Regions from separate parts of the Homo sapiens genome. Here region 2 is linked to region 1. The links are contacts of gene promoters, found by promoter capture Hi-C in human tissues and cell types (Jung and others, 2019). All regions are on one chromosome and are shown on one strand. Each heading gives the region's core, a stretch centred on a gene start or on the middle of the fragment in contact. The rest is flanking DNA. Distances are from core to core; before and after follow the strand shown.

Evidence for each region. The method cuts DNA at HindIII sites, captures the fragments that hold promoters and counts their contacts. A contact is called where the count stands out against the background at its distance.
Region 2: a fragment that was not itself captured here is called in contact with the fragment with the promoter of SHANK2 in region 1 in 1 of the 25 tissues and cell types used here (pancreas).

Annotation. Positions count from the first base shown.
Region 1 is chr11:71,248,570-71,253,861 of GRCh38, forward strand. It overlaps SHANK2 (SH3 and multiple ankyrin repeat domains 2), which reads right to left and starts at 4,008. Exons shown (of 26, transcript NM_012309.5): 1 at 3,856-4,008. The HindIII fragment of the contact is 4,011 bases long and covers 2,963-5,292 here.
Region 2 is chr11:71,441,765-71,444,464 of GRCh38, forward strand. DHCR7 (7-dehydrocholesterol reductase) reads right to left here. Exons shown (of 9, transcript NM_001360.3): 4 at 2,229-2,451; 5 at 499-589. Among named protein-coding and RNA genes, the nearest start is that of DHCR7, 5.3 kb to the right of the region's middle. The HindIII fragment of the contact is 6,551 bases long and covers 1-2,700 here.

The DNA.
Region 1 (5,292 bases), core at 2,758-5,257:
GATTTACTGAGGGAATAAATAGCAAGAGTGTGGCACTAATGCCAATCAAAAGGAAAATGCTCGGTGAGAGTCTCACTACCTGCGCTGCAGCTCCTGACGTTATTATTGTGACTAGCGGGTGGCTCTGTCCCCACCCTGGGAACAAGGACTGGGTCATTCTGCCAAAGGCCCATGTTCAGTCCCAGGAGGATGCAATCAAACAACCCAGACCTCTTCCAAGGGTTTGTATCCCCCCACCCCACCCCACGCTGGGTTGGGGACCCTTTCTATGCCCTGCAGCACTCGATGCTCACCTCCATCACAAGCCCTGTCACAACACGGACTAACTGGACTGTCCAGTCACGCCTCTTCCTCCCCATTATCCTAGAAGCTCCCGGAGGCAGCCCTTGTGGCCAGTCCAGGCTTGGATGTGGCAGCAGGCCCTCAGATGATTATTCACGCGGAAAGAAACAAATACACCCTAGATATCCTCTGACCATGAGAGAATGACAGGCCTCTCATTTTGGGTGGGAGGTTAGGTGCAGTGGCCAAGTCACAAAGGTCACTTAGCCCTGGGGGGCTGCAGGCTCCAAGCCCTGCACTCAATATGCTTACAGCCTCTCAACAAGTGATTCATTCTCCCGGTGCCCAGGTGAATGGCAAGGGGTGGGGGACTCCAGAGATGGAAAAGACCCGCCTTTGTCTGGAGCGATCCTCCCTTCTCCCCTCTCCTTCCCTTTCTTCCACAAATTCCCCAGTCTATAGAAACGGACAGGGTCAAGAACTTTGCTGGAGGTCATGTGGAGGCAAGAAGATTCTCAAGGGTCCCTCCCTGGGGCTCACAGTCCCAGTTACAGGAGAAGTGGAGGCTCCTGAAGAGGCTGTGCGCGTCCATTTCCACTGGTTTTTCTCAGCCACACCCTCCCTGCTGCCCCAAGGAGGGGCCCTCAGACTCCAGGTACAACAGCCCCAGGTGAAAGCTCCGGCTTGAGTTTACAAAGCAGGAGGCTGGAATTGCAGGCAGGTAAGACCTCAGGTGTCCAGGCCCAGAACTCTTTCAGAGTAGGAGGCACAACCTCAGGCCCTGCAGCAACTCCCAAGCTGAGCCCCACTTTAGAAAAGTCCTCATCGGGACTGACGGGGATCCCAGAACTCTCTCGTCTGCAACTCTGTTACGTATTTGGAAGTAAGGCAAGTATGCTAAAGCACTGCCTTCCTATAAAGAGCCATTTTTAGGAGTGTGTTTCTGTATACTGGTTAATTCCCGGCCCGTTTTTCTCTCCCATCCTTTTCCTCGTCACTAATGAAATATAAAATGCAATGCGGTCTCAGAATCCCTTTACCTTCCTCTGGGCAGCACTCACATCTGATATCACCTGGCTCCCCAAGCCCAGGCCTAGACCAAGACCCCTAGAAGCCAGCATGGCCCTGCATACAACCCTAAGCACCTGAATGAAGAAATGAATGAATGAAAATCTTGAAACTCACCCAAATAGGAATACGGTTTTCTATAGCAGACTGTACTTGGAGACAGTACACAGAAAGATCCCCCCAACAGACCGCCCCCCTCCCCGGGGGTGGGGGGGAATCTAATTTGTTAAAAGCAGCCAAGTGCTGTCAACCGAGCCCTCTGGGATCATCTTTATAGGTGAAATCACCTACTTGTAAAGAGTTACCTTTGATACTTGAATTCCAACCTCCTTCCAAAGGGACCCAAAGAAGCACCAAGCTTTCCACCCAATTCTTCCTTCCAGGAAAACAAGGAATTCCTGGGTGTAATAATGGAATCAGAGGCCTTATATAGACAGTGCTTCCCAGGAGCTGAATCATTCAGGCACTACTGGGACACCCAGATTCCTATCAGGACAAGAGTCTCCCTCAAGCCCCCTCAGAGGACAGTGACATCCGGCATAGAAACCCACAGCTCCCACCTACCAATCCCCCTCTTAGAGCAGACACGACGGCTTTCCCTCAGAATTAACACTGAACCCAGATGGGGGCCGAGCTCGCTCTCCTCACTCCACCCCCACAGGCTCAACCCTATTAGGACCCTCAACCTTGTTTCCAACCCACAAGTAGTTGGAAAACTCCAAAAGCAATCGGCCCGGGGCTGTTCTGGACCTGCTGAACCCTCTGGGGCACCAGGCTCGGTTCCTAGTGCACAGAAGGGCGTCACTAACTATGTGATGCGGACCGCAGGGCACCGGGGTTAAGGCTGAATCTGCCAGGTCCTTTTCCAGGGGCGCAGAACTTCCCTTGTGGCTGGGTCGGCAAAACCGAGGCCCACATCCCAGATAGAGATCAAATCGCCCTCCCCCACCGGGGGACTTCCGAAATTACCTCTCTGGATCTGGAAGCTTAATTAGCTGATTGGCCTCATTAACGTTCGAACTTGAGTTTCAAACGAAAAAGAGGTCACTCAACTATCCAATTTACAACCTCGAATTTCCACCCGAAAACCACTTTATTTTCGGATGGCCTCTGAGGACGCCCAGGCCCCTGCCAGCAGCTGCCAGCCCCCGAGAGCCTTACGTACTTTCGCCTGACCCCCCCACCACCCACCCCTCACCTGCCTGGCTCGAGCGCCTTCTCAGTTCCAGGCGCCCCGAGCCCCTTTAAAAGATCGGCTGCGAAAACCCACGGTCACCTGCACCACCCTTTCTCCCTCTGGGTGCTCCAGCCCCACGGAAAGGCAAGCCTCGCCCACGCGCCCACCCACCTCGAGCAGGGTGTCCGCACGCAGACCCGCCTGGAGGGCGCCGCGCTGCACCCCCACGCCAAGCCCCAGAACCCTGGCGGCGAGGTCCACCCCAGCCCCCGCATCCCCCCGAACCCGGGCGGCGAGGCCCGCTGCGGTGGTCGCACCTGCTGGCTCAGTCCGGCGGCTCCAGCCCAAGTGACGAGTGCGCTGTCGGCGTCTCTGGGAGCGGTCCCCGCGCCTGGCGCCCGGGGCCGGGGCCACCCGGTGGAGGCGCCTGGGCCGCGGGCTGGGCGGGCGGAGCTGCCCGGCCGCCGGGGAGGAGGGATGCCCGGGCGAAAGTTGCCAGGGAAACTTGATCAACTCGAGCGCGCCGGTGCCAGCTTCCTGCATAATTCACGGACGGTGGCGGCCGGGCTGCGCCCGCCGGGTCTCCCTATCCCAGCTGGTGAGCACGGCGGGCCGGGGTCGGGCACCCGGCTGTGGCTCAGCGCGACCCCCGGGACCTGGGCGCCCGACCCGCCACCCCCGGGCCCGCACCAGGCGCGCCGGCCCCGGCCTCTCCGCGACAGCTGCTGCTGCCGCCGCGCGCGCCTGGATGGGAGCTCTGCGTGCAGGGCCAGGGTGACCGCAGCGGGGTCTCGGGGGACCTGGCGGCCACGGTTCGGGTCTCCGCCCCCGCGCGCCACCTGGCGGCCCCGCGCCGGCTCCTCCGCTGGGCTCGCTGGCCCGGGTCCTAGGGCTGGCGGGCGGTGACCCGGGGCAAGGAGACCCCGGGAGAGCGGGGGAGGTCGCGCCACACGCGCTGTTCCAGAGGAAGGGGCAGGACGCGCCAGAGACTACGTGGTCCATGCGCGCAGGAGATAAAGCGGGGGCTCCTTCCTGCGCTCTGCCCCCACGCCGCTTCCAAAGCTTTCGACACCGGCCCCTGCCCGGGAAGAAAGGCATGCAGGGGGAAGGGCTCTCTACGGAAAATCGACCCCCACCTGGACACGCGGCTCACTCCCCCCAGCGCCCACCTCTCCAGCCTCTCTGGGTCCAGGACTGCGCTTACCCGGTAGTTGGTGCTCCCGGAATCGAGATGCCCCCAAAATGCCGTCAGTGAGCAGGATCGGGTGCCCAAGGGCCACCTCCCGTCCTCCCCGGCCCGCGCCCTGCGTCCCCGGCCGCCGCCTCACCTGGCTCGGCGAGTCGGGGGCGGGTCCGAGCCCCCCGGGAGCGCCAGCGTCCGCGCACACCTGGATCGGCCGCGGGAACCCGAGCGGCGCCGCGCCCAGCCCCGCCGGAGCTCAGGAGCCGCCGCCGCGGCTCAGGTGCAGGGGGTGGGGAAGGACCCGGCCCCGCCCGGCGCGGGAGCTGGCTCCGGCGAGGGTGGGGGAGGGGCCCTCTCGCCGCCGAAAGGACGCGTGCGGCCCAGGACCCGCGGGCGACCCGACCTGGACCCCCACCCCCGCCCACGCCGCGGACCTCAGTCCCCCGCCCCGACCCCGCTCCCGCCCGCGGCTGCGGCTCGGGCGTGCGCGTGGGGTCTGTTGTGGCAACCCCGGGAGACCGCGGGGCGCCCTGGCCGCCTCTGCCCCGCCCCGGGCTGCGTGGCTCACGGACCTCCCCCTCCCTGGCCAAAGCCGGCGGACGAGAAAGTCCCTGATTTTTGTAAAGTCCGGTTCGGTCTGCACGGTTATCCCGAACGCAGCTGGCTCCCGCCACAGAGTATTTATAATAATAGGATTTGGAAATAGAGGCTGCCTGCACATCAAAACGTTTGCAGAGCAAACGAAAACTTTGTACCCGGGTGATACGCCGGCGTCTGCTGCCCAGGCCACCAGTTCTGGGGCGCCTTCCGCCCAGGGGTGCACAACGGTATCTCCGCCAGCTGCCCTCCAAGCCAAGAAAAGCCAGGGGGTGGGGTGGGGGGAGCAAAAGCCAACGGCTCGGGTGAATCCCAGAGGCCAAAGGCACCCTCCGGAGACTCCAGGAATCCTGTTATTATCCAGGACTCCGGATTGCTAGGTTTGCGGAAGCCCAAAGGGGCGGGTCCTGAGCTTGGAGCTGTGGCCGCCGTGTGAGCCATCGGCTGATAGATTTTCTCAAGGCCTTAATCATTCACTGGGAGTCTCCCCCAGTACGAGCTGCGTGTTTCTGAGTAAGCTCTTGAGGTCTCTGTGTTCTGAGTTTTCCAGTATTCTGGAAGGTGTGGGTGGGGATCAGAGTCCAAGCTGTGGAGTAGAACTGTCTCCAGAACCCTGGAGCCCGGCATTATGCAAACCCCTAACTGTGCCCCCTACATAGAGTGAGTGTGTGTGTGTGTGTGTGTGTAAGTCAGTCTATCTTACAGGACATGCCTGAGAGGTTTGCATGGGCTGGTGACTTCAACATACCAAAGGCAAAGTTAAATATTTGCTCTAGATACTTTTTTTTTTCAGCTTGCATAATTGTCCCACATTTCAAAGAAGTCTTTAAAAGCACTTAGGTTAAAAAAAAAAAAGTTGTGTTTGGGGCCTGAATATTTCAGGACACACATGGAATAAATATTGTAACTCCTTGAGGGCAGCTGCCTTATGTAAATGTCTTTCTCGTCGCTGCTTCCTTAAGCATACACTTGATAAAATATTTGT
Region 2 (2,700 bases), core at 136-2,635, 190 kb after region 1:
TGCCTGGCCCCCTCTGTAATTGTTGGGGAGCACCTCAGCCCATCCACCCCTCAAAACAGGGAGCTTCTGGGGGCAGAGTTGGGATGCGGTTCCAGTCTGCACCCACGTGAGAGGCACAAAGCCAGGCTCCTCGTGGGTTCTCAATGATGGCAAGGAATGAACAGACAAGGTCTCCCACGGACAGCCCCGAGGAATGGTGGTCTCTGCATGGTGGTCTCTGCAGGAAGCTTCATGGGCCGAGTGCATCCCCTGCTATGGGGCTGGGAAGGAGCTGGGCCATCCATTCCCTCCTTACCCAGGAAAGTGATTTCTAACCTGGGTGTGGGATGGCCCCAGCTGCCCTCAATGGTTTTGAGGCCTGGTGCTGTGAAAAATCCAAGCAAAATGGATTTCTATCCTGTGACAAGTCTTAGGGACAAAGCAGCGCTGGGGAGGACTGGCCCCTGAGAGAAAGGGATGAGAACGGGAGCCTGGGGAGGGTGGAAGGGAGGAGGCTACCTGCAGGAGTCACGGCCCCCTCCTGGATGCCTCCTACGTAGCCGGGTAGAAACTTATGGCAGAAGTCAGGGAGAGACGTGTACAGAAGCACCTGAAACACACAAGCAGCCTGATCACCCCCCGCCTGGAGGGCACCTGCAAAGGGGGACGCATAGCAGGAACATGAGAATCACAATCATAGTCTTTTTCTTCCTGAAGCACTTATGGCTCCTGGAAGCTCAAACTGCTGGGCTGTGGGTTTTGAAGGGGGTTCTGAGACAATAAACTCATCAACCAGGGAAGGTGCCAAGGCGTTCTCCCCCAGGGCTCCATTCGCCCCTCAGGAGAGCGCACAGGTCCCTCCCAGTCACCTTTTTAAAATGGAGAATCCCATAAAATTCAACTTTTTATATATATATATAAATCTATCTTTGAGATGAGGTCTTGTTCTACCACCCAGGCTGGAGTGTAGTGGTGCAATCATAGCTCACCGCAGCGTTGTCCTCCTGAGCTCAAGTGATCCTTCCACCTCAGCCTCCCAAGTAGCTGGGATTACAGGTGTGCACCACCACACCCGGCTAAAATTCACCCTTTTAAAGTGCACAATTCAGCGGCATTTAGCGCATTTACATGGTTGGTTGTACACCTATCACTGCTAATTCCAGAACTTTTCATCACCACAGAAGAAAATGTTGTTCCAATCTCCGGTCACTCTGAATTCCCTGTCCCTGCCGCCCCTGGCTGCCACTGAGCTTTCTGCCTCTGTGGATTTGCCTGTACTGGGTATTGCATATAAAGGGAACCACACAGTATGCAGCCTCTGTGACTGGCTTCTCTCGCTCAGCAGTGTCTTCAAGGGTCATCCGCCTACTGGCATCAGAGCTTCATTCCCTTCCGCTGCCAAATAGTGTCCCACAGTGGGCACAGTGTTCTGTTCTGTGGGTCCATTCATCTACTGATGGACAGGTGGGGGTTCCTGCTTTGTGGCTATTTGTGATTCACACTGCCCCTGTCATTTTTCACTCAAAGGGACCAAGAGATCTGAACTGAGAAGTATTCTGGAGCCCAGAAGCTTGGACCCTGGGGAGAAACAGCTAATCATGATCTGAGCCTTCCTCCCGCCCAGGAAGGAAAACCCAGGCCTGTCTCTTTCTAGCACCGTTTCCCTGGAAACCTTTTCCTGGGTTCAGGCAATCAGCACCACCCATGTGTGCACCAGGTTTACAACAACCCCTTCCTGGAACTCCCTCTGGACTGGGAGGCCAGTGGGGACACCATGGAGCTGAGGACGTCCTGGACCTGCCTCGACTGCCTGTGGGGAAACATGGCCCTCGCTTCTCTGAGTGGCATCTCATGACTGAGAGAGTCCCTTTGGGGACTGAGATGCTCCTTTCCAGACCTGGTGCAAGGCGTGACTCCTGCTGACAATGGGGCTTCCTCAGGACAGCACTGCCCTCCCACGGGGTTTTGCTCCTATCCTCAGCTTGTCCCTGCAGAGCTGGGCGTGCCCAGCAACTGCATGCAGGCATGCCGTGAAGGTGTATCAAACGCTGATGTGACAGGTGCCTCCTGCCTTACAGCTGAGGATGAATCTGAACATGTCAGAGTCCAGGGAATGCCCTGCTGGGTCCCGGGAACCCAGATGTCAACCTGAGCCAGGATCCATGTCCCAGACAAATGGAAGGACTACCCCAGCAGGAGGGCACGCTCCCCACCTGCTGTGTCCCAACCCCAGGGCAGGGGCTGCTGACCTGGAAGGTGACCCACAAGGTATAGAGCTGGGCGGCTTTCCTCGTTATAGGTGGAGTCTTGGCCCAGATGTCCGAGAGCCGAGCATGTCCGGTGACGATGTCCACCACAGGGCCAGTCAGGGCGCAGCTGTACTGGTCACAAGCCATGATGAAGTAGTAGACGATGAAGGGGGCGAACAGCAGTAGGAAGATGACGCTCGCCAGTGAAAACCAGTCCACCTCCCTGCGAGGACGGATGCAGGCAGTCACACTGGGGCCCATCTGCCCTGGGCCCCACCAGGACCCTAAGAGGCTCTGTGTGGGAGAACTGTTGCTCAAACCCACCAGTACCCCATGACAGAAGGCATTAGCTCCTAGCACGGGCCCTCCTTGCGGCCAGGGAAGCCACTCAACATGCCTGCTCTACTGTAGTTGATTAACTGGTGGCACTATCTGTGGCCCCCATGGAAGGCCCAGAGCTCAGAATATGAGC